Linked DNA regions of Homo sapiens: region 1 is linked to region 2. The links are contacts of gene promoters, found by promoter capture Hi-C in blood cells and fetal thymus (Javierre and others, 2016). All regions are on one chromosome and are shown on one strand. Each heading gives the region's core, a stretch centred on a gene start or on the middle of the fragment in contact. The rest is flanking DNA. Distances are from core to core; before and after follow the strand shown.

Region 1 (5,399 bases), core at 2,244-4,743, 210 kb after region 2:
CCAGCTCTCCGGCATGATGCCAGAAGTCAGGAGCCTGGTGAACTCTCTGGCTCAGCCACCGACTCTCTGGGTCTCAGACTTCTTCATTATAAAGTGAGGATGTCGGACTAACCGTACCTAAGATAGCCGTGAGCTTGGACAGCCGGGATGACCTTCTCTGTGCCAAATTACCCTAATTCCTTCCATCTTGTGTCATTTGCCTTCCACTTACTGGTCTTATATACATCTTTTTAAAGGATTTTATCAGTTTAGTTAAATTCAACATTCTCCAAGCAGCTGGTATACACCCGACATTGACCCGATACTGGAAAATCAATGGTGCTGAGATATCTGTTTTCAGAGTGCTTCCAGTCTAGCAGAGGAAGGCAGGCAAGAGAACAGACAATGAGACCAGGGTCTCTGGAAGCTGTGGGAGGGAGAAGAACAGGGAAAAGATCCCAGCAGGCCAGAAAGGGTTTTCCTCAGGTGACTTGGGTCTGAGAAGAAACTCACCCCGTTCCAGGAGAAGTAGGGGCAAGGGAGAAGGGGACTAACATTTTTTGTTTGTTTTGTTTTAAGATGGGGTCTCACTATGTTGCCCAAGCTGAAGTGAATGACTATTCACAGATGCAATAATAATGCACTGTAGCCTCAAACTCCTGGGCTCAAGGGATCCCCTCACTTCAGCCTCCTGTGTAGCTGGGACTATAGGTGTAAGCCATTACAACTGGCTGGGGGGACTAACTTGTAAGTTATTATTATTTATTTATTTACTTATTTTTGAGACAAGGTCTGGCTCTATCGCCCAGGCTGGAGTGCAGTGGTGTGATCTCAGCTCACTGCAGCCTCCGTCTCCCAGGCTCAAGTGATCCTCTCACCTCGGCCTCCTGAGTAGCTGAAGCTACAGGCATGCACCACTACACTTGGCTAATTTTTGTATTTTTTGTAAAGATGGGGTTTCGTCGTGTTGCCCAGGCTGGTCGCAAACTCCTGAGCTCAAGCCTCAGACTCCCAGAGTCCTGGGATTACAGGCATAAGCCACTATGTCCAGCCTTAAGTAATTATTTCTAATAGACCAAACACCATACTAGACAACTTATATGTATTATTTCACTTCATTCCTATAGCCTTTTGAGTAAGTATTAAGCCCATTTTACAGATGAACAAACTAACGTTCAGGGTGCCTAAACCCACACTGTAGGGTCAAGCTGAGACTCAAATTCAAATCTGCCTGATTCCGAACCCACGCTCTTTCCGCCCAACTAACAGAGTGTGAAGGGCACAAATAGCTACGACTTTGAATACTGGGTAGGGCCTGGGCCTCCTGGCCTTTTCTGAATCCTCCTGGCTTCTCCCCCAGCCAACAGGAGAACTGTCACTTTAAGAGGCACAGCCCCTTAGAAGGGTTGGTTTCCATTCATTTTTAATGGCCCAGCTGCTGTGGTCTCCCTGCCTCCCCATGGACTAGTCCAGGAGTTTCTCTGCAACTGAGCACTCTCATCACACTGGGGCCTGTCAATGTTTAATGGCAGCAAGGATCTTATCTCGGTTACCCAAGTCGTTTAGATTACTCCTGTGCAGGGTACCTGGAGCATGAGGGAAGGCAGCAGATGGCAGACCCGTCAGTCACCCCTCTGCTCTCTGGAGGGAGGAGGGATTATTGGAGCAGAAAGGGCGAGAGGGTGGGAGAAACAGAGGGTGGCAGGGAGACACACTGTAACAGGACAGAACGCCTCACTGCACGCTTGCATGGCCCTGGCTGTGTTCTCCACCTTCCCTATTCTCAGCCACCTCCCATAGGGGCAGCCCACTGCACATACTCCCAAGGCCCTCCTGGGAGACCCAAAACACAGGGGAGTGAGTGGTTGAATTTCTGTGGAGCTTGACCACAGTAAGTGACCTTTGAGCCCACTCTGGTGTTCCCCCTGGGCATCAGAATCTCTGCTTATTTTCAGGGAGAAAACACAGCACTACTTGTCTCTCTTATGAACTGTTGAAAACTCTAACCTCGGGTGCTCCAGAGACATGAGTGTGTTGCAAAGGTCACACAAACCATACCTTCAGTACAACCTCACGGATTCGTAGATATGTGAGCTGGGTCATGGGGGCAGGGTCCTGGGTCCTGGCTCTAGAGTACCCTGAGAGGGAGAGACAGGTTCTCGCTGCTCCCCCAGGCCCAGGGAATGCCTGGATCAGATAGTCGAGTTCTATTTGGGGAGTAGAACGTCACAGTTCAAACACAGAACCAGAGGCCACTCTGATGTTATTTACAGACCTTGTCTAAAGATCTAGCCTCCAAGCTGGGAGGGAGGGCAGTGGGCTTGCTGCCTTCTCCAATTTCTCCTGCTCTCTGAATTTCTTATATCCTGTCACCATCCCTCACCCTCCTACCTTGTCTCCATCCAGGAGCACCCTGTGCTGCGGTATCTGATGTGTCACTCACAGCTAGGAGCCTGGAAAGAGTGTTCTTAGGACAGAGGGAGGGGATTGGGAGCAGGACAGAGGACCCACCACCAGTGCCAGAGGACCCAGAGAGGTTCCTAGACATGGGGCTAGAGAACTGGGAGTGGGAGAGGGGCAAGGAGGGTCCAGGAAGGCCTCATTGGGTTGGGTGAACATTTCCCTGCCCCGAGTTCTGGGGCTTTCTGCCTGATGGGAGTTACAGTGAAAAACAGCAGGATGCTTTTCTAGGAAGACTTTGGCAGGTTGGGGGTGGGGGCGGTAACGGTGATTTCATAATTATTTCACTCCTAGTGAAATATTTATTTCACTATTAATTATGAAATAGGAATAATTTCATAATTATTTCACAAAAACTTAATGAGCAGCTACCATGCTCTAAAGTACTGGCAAATGAAGGTGAATAAGACAGGGTCTGTGCTGTCAGCAAATGTTCAGTTTATCTGGAGAAACAAGACGGATGCTTCCTGAGTAGTGAGGACTACAGGAACGTGCCACCCCATGCCCCACTAATTTTTTATTTTATTTTATTTTATTATGTGTAGAGACGGGATCTCCCTATGATTCCCTGTCTAGTCTCGAACTCCTGGGCTCAAGTGATTCTCTCCTGCCTTAGCCTCCCAACATGCTGGGATTACAGGCGTGAGCTACCATGCCCAGCGAAGAGCATTGCTTTCTTGGAAAACCAAGGCCAAGGAGGATGGCATTGATTTTTTTCCCTAGGAAGGCCCTGTGGGAATCCCAAGAAAACTGGACAAAAGGCAGCTAGCAGCCATTTAGCTGTGGGTCATCTTCACCTGCCACTCCTTCTTCCAAGGGTGGAGGCCCAATGCCCATCCTCTCCAGAGAAAAGGACAAGCTTGAAGTTCCCAGCCAAGCCCTCTACTGGAGGCAGCTGGGCTGGGCTGGAAGGAGGGGAAAATCCAGTCTGAGGCAGAAGCATGCTTTGGGGTTCTGCCTCCTGAGTCAGTTCTGGCTGCCCAGGGGCAAGGAGGAGTGGCCGAGCCCCACCCAGATCTCTGGGATGCTACATTTTCGTATTTTACATCAGTATAAGCTCTCATCTTCACAGTCTCGGGGCACCAAGTTCTTGTAAACAGAGGGAAATGTACTCTAGCAAAACTTCCCAGATCTGATCTACTTATTCAACAAAGTATTTACTGAGTACTCATTCATGCCAGACTGTTCTACATGCTAGGGATACAGCAACAAACACAAAAGGCAAAAATCCCTGCTCCCTTGAAGCTTATATTCTACCAGGGAAGACAGACGGTAAATAAGGAAATACCTAAAATAGTAATGATATTTACTATTGATAAATATTAATGATATTTACTAATGATAAATACTATCATAAAGGCTAACGTGAAATAATCCAGCAGCAAAGTGGGATAGAAGGTACCAATAGTGAGGCCAGGCGCAATGGCTCATGCCTGTAAGAAGCACTTTGGAAGGCCAAGGCAGGTGGATTGCTTGAGGTCAGGTGTTCAAGACAAGACTGACCAACATGATGAAACCCCGTCTCTACTAAAAATACAAAAATTACCTGGGCATGATGGCACATGCCTGTAGTCCAAGCTACTCAGGGACTACTCAACTCAGGGGAATCGTTGAACCTGGGAGGTGGAGGCTGCAGTGAGCTGAGTTCCCACCACTGCACTCCAGCCTGGGCAACAGGAGCAAGACGCCATCTCAAAAAAAAAAAAAAAAAAAAAAAGAATGTGCCAACAGCGAGCATATCATTGAAAGTTTAAATTGGACAGCCAGGGAGGGCCTCATGGAGAAGGCAGCCTTTGAGGGAGGCATGAGGATTCTGAAGGAATAGAATTCCAAGCTGAGGAAATGGCACGTAGAAGGGCACTGGGCAGAGTGGCGTGCAGCTGGAGCCAGGAGAGCAGGGGAGAAAGTGAAGAGGTGGAGTCAGTGGTGGTGGGCGACACCATCCTAAAGGGCCTCGTAGGCCATGATGAGAATGATGAGGACCTGGGCTTTTCCTCTAGTGAGAAGGAGAGGCCAAGGAGAATTTTGGCAGAGGAGTCAGATGATGTGACATATTTTTAAGAGACTGCTTCTGAAAGCTGTGCTGGAAATAAGTGAGGGCTGGGTGTCAGTGAGAAATGGTGGTGGTTTGGATTGGGTTGTTGGCAGTTGGAAGGTAAGAAGAGACTGGACATTTTAAAAGAGGAATCTACAGGGTTTGCTGACAAAATGTGGGTTGTGAGAAAAACCCATGTGTGCCAGGCACCATGGGAATATGTAATGTCGTTAAAATTTTACGTTAATCACGTAAGCAAGGTTCTATTTTTTTTTTTTTTTTTTTTTTGAGACGGAGTCTCGCTCTGCTCTGTTGCCCAGGCTGGAGTACAGTGACACAATCTCGGCTTACTGCAACCTCCGCCTCCCAGGTTCACGCCATTCTTCTGCCTCAACCTCCCGAGTAGCTGGGACTACAGGTGCCGCCACCACGACCGGCTAATTTTTTGTATTTTTAGTAGAGACGGGGATTCACCGTGTTAGCCAGGATGGTCTCGATCTCCTGACCTCATGATCTGCCGGCCTTGGCCTCCCGAAGTGCTGGGATTCCAGGCGTGAGCCACTGTGCCCGGCCTTTGCAAGGTTCTATTGTTATAGGCCACTTTATAGACGTGGAATCGCTTAGAGAGGCCAGGTGACTGGAAAAATCACATAGCTAGCAAGAGGCAGAGCTCTGGCATTTATTTATTTATTTTTGTTTTTTGTTTTGTTTTGTTTTCTAATTCCAGGTTAAGTTCACATAGAGCTGGTATTTAAACCAAATCTTCCACTGAACACAGACCTTGAACTCTTAGCAGCTATACTGTACAAATCTCATCCATTCATTCAACAATTCTCCATTGCTCATCAGCTCTGCTTCAGGCACTGGTCTACATGTTGAGGACGCACAGATGAGTAAGAGAAAGTCCTTGACTTTGAGGAATTTA
Region 2 (6,028 bases), core at 2,710-5,209:
ACGGGTAATGAGGTTAGGCCAGGTCAGCCACCCCAAGTAGTTGGGGAGACTTTATTGGATCATACAACTGAATAGCGCAGGTGGTTTCTGTCACTTGCTATCACAAGGCACAGAGATTACTGAGAGACCAGTTTAGCTCAACTCAAGGAATAACTCTGGTAGCAGTGACACAGCCCCCAGATTAAGGAGCTCTTCTCTGCCAGCAGTGACCAGGAGGAGTGGGTAGAGCAGAGGGGCCCCAGCATCTTTCTTATCCTGAGGCTTTGAATGGTGGATTCAGCTGAGGCCCTTTATGGCCTCTTTAAGCCTGAGACTGTAGCTCTGAGAGGTCATGGATTCCTGACTGAATGGTTTTCCTGCCAATGCCCCAATACCCCAGGTCCACCCAAGGCAAACATCCCGAGAAGAGAACAGGGAAACCGCGGGCAAGCAGGTCCAGAATGAACTTCACCCCTCCTCTGCCCACTTCTGATTTCCAGCAGATTGCTGAGGCCTCACTGCCAGGGATGCCAGCCGCAGCCTCCAGGAGGGCATCAGGGAAGGAAAGAGAGCTGCTGAGGAGGGACTTTGAAGCTGAAAAGCAGTGTGACTGCTTCATTTGCTCCCATGCCAAGTGACAGCCACAAAGTTAGTTATTCTTCTCTACAGGCTTTTAATTGTCTGTAATCTAATTACCACTCAACCTGCTTCCCCCGTCATGCTATTAATTAAGGCAGGGTGGCTTTGCTAGGGCATAAGGGAGTTCTTGCATTTCTTTGCTTCTTACTCAACTTGTACATTCAGGCAAAAGTATTAGGGACAGCCAGTGCCAGTCTTTGATTTCTTTTTTCCTGTTCTTACTGTGGCTATTTCCCCTTCTCTCCCTGCTAGTAAGGGTAGCCCTGACCCTCCATGCCCCAACCCCAACCACGTTCCACTTTGGTACCCCCTGGTGCTGGGTCATAGCTGCTTGGCCTATGACCTAGGGATATTGCGACCATGTGACTGTGCACTTACCATGGTTGGGCTGGGAACTCAGTAGCAGCCCTGCTGTAGTAGGTCTGGTCATCGTGGGGTTTGACGAGGGTGTCCCTGGAGCCGTAGTGCTCTTGGCGGGACTGATGCTGGTTGCAGGAGCGAGGCTAGTCACCTTAACCTGGAGATGTAGCACAGAGTACACAGTAGCCCAGCTTTTGCACAAAAGGGACTTAACTTTGGACTCTGGGAACCTCAGTGATGGATTTCAAACCAGCAAAGAGTCACTGTGGAGGAGGAGGAGGGAAGGATAGCAGAAAGACTGTGCAAAAAGGGGACCTGACAGAGCATCAGGTCCAGCATGTCCATCCTATGGATGAAGAAACTGGGGCCCAGAGAGGAGAGGGATGAGGATCAAAGAGCCAGCAGGTGGTCAAGGCAGAGACGAAACCTGCTCTCCCGATTTCCCAGGCCGGCACTCTTCCCCTGCTCCACACCGACCAGGCTCACGCACAATTGAGTAGGGGCTTCTGGGCTTGCACCCCACGCTGCTGCAGTGAAGGCCAAGAGGACCTGGGAAAGAACTTCAGACTGGAGGACAGTTTCAGAAAAGAGATGGGGGATGTGGCACTTTTATTTCCTAGAGAATATGATGAGGACATTGCGAACCCCTCCCCCAGTGAGACATAGCTTTGGCAGGGGGAGGCAAGTATGAGTTTTGAAGAAGGAGAAGTCCCAGGTTTGTGTCCTGTTTCTTAGTATCATCTAAGTGACAAGTCCCTATGGAGGGATAAGAATTTCCACCTCACAGAGAAAGAGGTGGAGGCTGGAGACACCCGCACTTTGGGGCAGATGGGAGGGCCCTGGCCTCTGACTCCCAGTGTCATGCAGGGAATGTAGTTGGTCTGCTGTGTCCCTCACCTCGGGGAGTTGGTCCCCATAATCTGTGAGCTCCTCATAGTTGCTCAGGTCAATGACTTCACCATAGTTGTCTGGGTTCAGGACATCATTCCGCAGAGGCAGAACTTCAAAGGAATCGCCTTCCCTGGGCATCTGCTCCTCTCTCCTCTTCCTCTCCTTCCTTGGGAGAGAAGCTGTCCCTGTCTCCTGCAGCACCAAGGCCAGCAGACTCAGGAAAGCCAGGAGCCTCATGGGGAGTCAGATGGGACTGAGAATCCCTTCAGCGGCTGGTCCTGGCAAGTGGGCACGAGGAAGGGCAGCGATCTGAGGGACAGGCTCTCCAGAGTGTTGTGGGAATGGCTCGCAGATTTACTCCACTTCCCACCCCCACACTTGCAGACTCAGTGCTCTCATCACATGCACAAATTCCCTACCAGCTGGGACTATGTCTTGGGGGGTATCTCCTAGCAGCCCCCTCCCTCCACCGCCCCACTTGAGTGTTTTTACACGCTCACCCAAACACTGATATTCACTCACAGAGGCATGTGCAGACACATCTCAACACAGACACATTCACAAGAGTCCCCTTGTTTACAAACGAGGCACACACTGGTGCATGCACACAGATGTCCTCTCTTAAACAACCCCATGCTCAGAACATGACTGCTAGTCACTAAGCTCGATTTAGAGAATGTCAACATCAAATAATCTTATGGGGTCTTTTTGTTTGTTTGTTTTTTTGAGACGAAGTTTCATTCTTGTTTCCCGGGCTGGAGTGCAGTGGTGCGATCTTGGCTCACTGCAACCTCCGCCTTCTGGGTTCAAGCGAATCTCCTGCCTCAGCCTCCTGAGTAGCTGGGATTACAGGCACCCACCATGCCTGGCTAATTTTTGTATTTTTAGTAGAGAAGGGGTTTCACCATATTGGCCAGGCTGGTGTCGAACTCCTGACCTTAGGTGATCCACCCACCCTGGCTTCCCAAAGTGCTGGAATTACAGGTGTGAGCCACCGCGCCCAGTTGACTCTTGTGGTTTTTTATAAAGATCATCCATTCATGCATTTGCTCAACAAACATTTATGGGTGTCTATTGAGTTCCAGGCACAGGACTTGTCTCTGTGGGTACAGAATGAATGAGGCACAGCCCTTCCTAGGAGCACCTAGTCTCTTTAGGAGACATGGACTTACAATGAAACATACAATGTAAAAAAGAATGTTAGTTTATGAAATATACTTCTAAATGCAGCTTTTTAGAAACAGATTATTACAGATAAAAGAGTTCTTTGTGTGTGATTGCATGAGTGTGTACGCATCTGGAAATTTCCTTAGATACCTGTGTATATTTGTGTGTGTGTGCACACAGATGCCTGCGTATGTATGTGATATGCATGTGAGTACAAATGTTCATGTAGTTCGTATATGTATAGACGGGTCAGGAAATGCATGTGGTGTGGTTTTGTATCCAGGCATAAGTGTATACAACAGTCATACCCAGTGTAGGCTTAACACAGCCCTCCCCAAAGCTAGCTGCACAAGTTTCTAGTAGACTCTCCCTCTTTCTTTCTTTTAAAATTTTTTTTATCTTTTAATTTTTATTTTATTTTCTATTTTTAAGACGGTGTCACTCTGTTGCCCAGCCTGGAGTGTTATGGCATGATCTCAGCTCACTGAAGCCTTAACCTCCTGGGCTCAGGCAGTCCTCCTGCCTCAGCCTCCCAAGTAGCTGGGACTACAGGCGTGTGTTACCATGCCCAGTTAACCTCCCCACCCTTTCTTAATTTTAGCTGGGCAAGGGGGCAAGCCTCTAGCAGTAGCAAGAGGTGTTTCTTCACCTTACCTCCCATACCTCACCCCAAACGAATTACATAATCTCAAAAAAAATTTTTCTAAGAGAGTTTAGTGCCCACCCAAAAGTCTTGTCCAACTTCTTTGGCCAGAGGCCTAAACTCTCTTCATTTTCCCTTCCCAATCCCCTGCCCCAGCCAAACACTTTGCCCTCATTTGCGCACCGATGGCCAGAGGCCTCAACCTTGAGCCTTACCCCTTCAATGCTTCTGGATCCTGGATGGAGAGCCCTGCAGCTTCCAGAAAGGTGGGGACTCTGGTGGAGGCTGTCTGAACTGGGGCTTGGGTTAGACAGTGGTGCCCGGGGGAGGGCAAGGAGTTGGCCAGGCCTGCGACCAATCAGACTTCTCATTCCTTCTGATGTCCAGCTGTTTCCCCTCCTCTTTCCTCAGGGGGTCCCCTGCCCCATTCCTGTATTTGACAAAAGAGAATTCTCCCCCCACCTTCCGCTTCACCCCCCACCTCCAGCTCCTGCTCTCTCTCCTCTTACTCTGTCAGCTCCTTCTTTCTTTTCCTTGTCCACTCTCCTGATAAGGCCACATCTTTGAGGAACAGGGAGTGCCATCCCCTGCAAGGAAGGGGCCCCATCCCTCAGATTCTGAGTCCTCAGAGAAGGCTGGAGTCGGGGGATATGGAGAGATAGAGCTTGTCTTTGCAGCTTCTTTCTCCAGCCAGAGAGTGACAAGGCTTCAGCTTCATAGCCAGAATCCAAAGATAAAAATAGGTGGAAATGAGGCACTTCACCCTCACCTAGAGCGCCAGCACAGAGACCATAATTGAATAAAATCACCAGAGACAGGAGCTGCAGGCCTAGGTAGTTCAAAGAGAAGGTGTATGGGGGATGAGATCGGATTTGAAAGCCAACTTCAAGTTCACAGATGATGATCATGAGGATACGGGAAATTCTCTAAATCTGCTAGGAGGAAACCAAATGGAAATTGGGAGGTGGGCCCTAGAAAGGATCATAAACACCAGTAGACATTGTGTAGGGTCTCGGGGGCCTGGGAAGTATCCTCTCCCGCACCCTCAGAGATGTACAGTCGTCCCTCAGTAACCATGGGGGATTGGTTCTGCACGTCCAGTGGATACCAAATCCACATATGCTGAGGTCTTTTATATAAAATGGTGAATTTGCACATAACCTACGCACATCCTCCTGTGTACTTCAAATCATCTCTAGATTACCTATAACACCAAACACAATGCTTACACCTCACTCCATTCACATGGATTCCACATAGTACTGGCACACAGCAAATTCAAGTTTTCCTTTTTGGAACGTTGTGAATTTTTTTTTTTTCTGAATATTTTCAATCTGTGGTTGGTTGAATCCACGGATGTGGAACCCACAGATACAGAGGGCCAACGGCATTCATCTGGAAACACTCCCCTTTCCTTGGTGCCTCGAGCAGGCTGCCGAGCAAGTCCTTGCTGAAGGCAGAGGTGGGGTGGCTAAGGAGTCTTCCCCAGCTTCTGCCAGCCTGTGCCCTGGCGCCCACCCAGGTTTCTCAGTGACTCTCCTTGTTCCCTACTCCTTTCCACCAACCAGATACTGAATTCCAGCTGTGAGGCCCCCTAAAGATCTAGTCCAAGTCCTTGTGGTATAGATGAGGAGAGTGAGGCCCAAAGAGGTGACGTGACTTGCCCTAGGTCACACAGAGCCAGGGCCAATGCCTAGATTTTTTGACTCCCTGGTCAGAGAGTTTTCTTTAGTTCATATGACCCTCCCCATTTCCACCTTCTTCCCCAGGAGTCCTGAATCCGTGTGTTTCCAGGCCCTCAGAGCAGATGGCTTGGCAGAACTCATCTCTGCCCTGGCACACCAGGTGAAGAGGCAGATCTAATAGCCTGGCCCTCGAGGGCAGCATTTGGCTTGCTGTGTTCCTGGGCTCCAGCTGGTGCAAGAGGGGGCTTCCCTCAGCCCAAGAGCCTGGTCACCAGAGAAGAGCATGTTCTTGTACCCCTGGCAGCCCCCCACCTGGGAAAAGACACCATCAGAGGCTCTGCTGGGTGGAGGGAAAGATAGCCCTGGATCCTGGAGGGCATCCAGTAGGCAGATGGCACATTTGGCGGGCTGTATGCCTCCATCTTCTCTCCACAGCCTGGGCTTTGCAGCCAGAGGCCCTCCACCCCCACAGCCAGCCTAGGCAATCTCCCCGCTCCCACCCCACACATTTATTCCTGGGAGAAATGCAAATGCGAGTGTTCATTCACTCTCCCTGCCGCCTGCTCCCACTCTCCCTCCCTGCTTTCCCAGAGACATACGCTCCTGCCATCCCTGCTTGGTTGCCACACCCCCACCATCGTTCCTCCCCAATGCATACACACCT

The links. Contacts are between HindIII fragments. The CHiCAGO score rates a contact against its expected background, and 5 or more counts as called.
Region 1: a fragment that was not itself captured here is called in contact with the fragment with the promoter of OPTC in region 2 in 1 of 17 cell types (M2 macrophages); the score reaches 5.0 in M2 macrophages.

Annotation. Positions count from the first base shown.
Region 1 is chr1:203,279,195-203,284,593 of GRCh38, reverse strand. No RefSeq gene overlaps it. Among named protein-coding and RNA genes, the nearest start is that of LINC01353, 5.3 kb to the left of the region's middle. RefSeq lists a silencer at 1,250-1,299. The HindIII fragment of the contact is 386 bases long and covers 3,301-3,686 here.
Region 2 is chr1:203,492,084-203,498,111 of GRCh38, reverse strand. It overlaps OPTC (opticin), which reads right to left and starts at 3,959. Exons shown (of 8, transcript NM_014359.4): 1 at 3,895-3,959; 2 at 1,876-2,147; 3 at 997-1,135. The coding sequence starts at 2,106. RefSeq lists a silencer at 4,238-4,466 and an enhancer at 5,854-6,028. The HindIII fragment of the contact is 16,129 bases long and covers 1-6,028 here.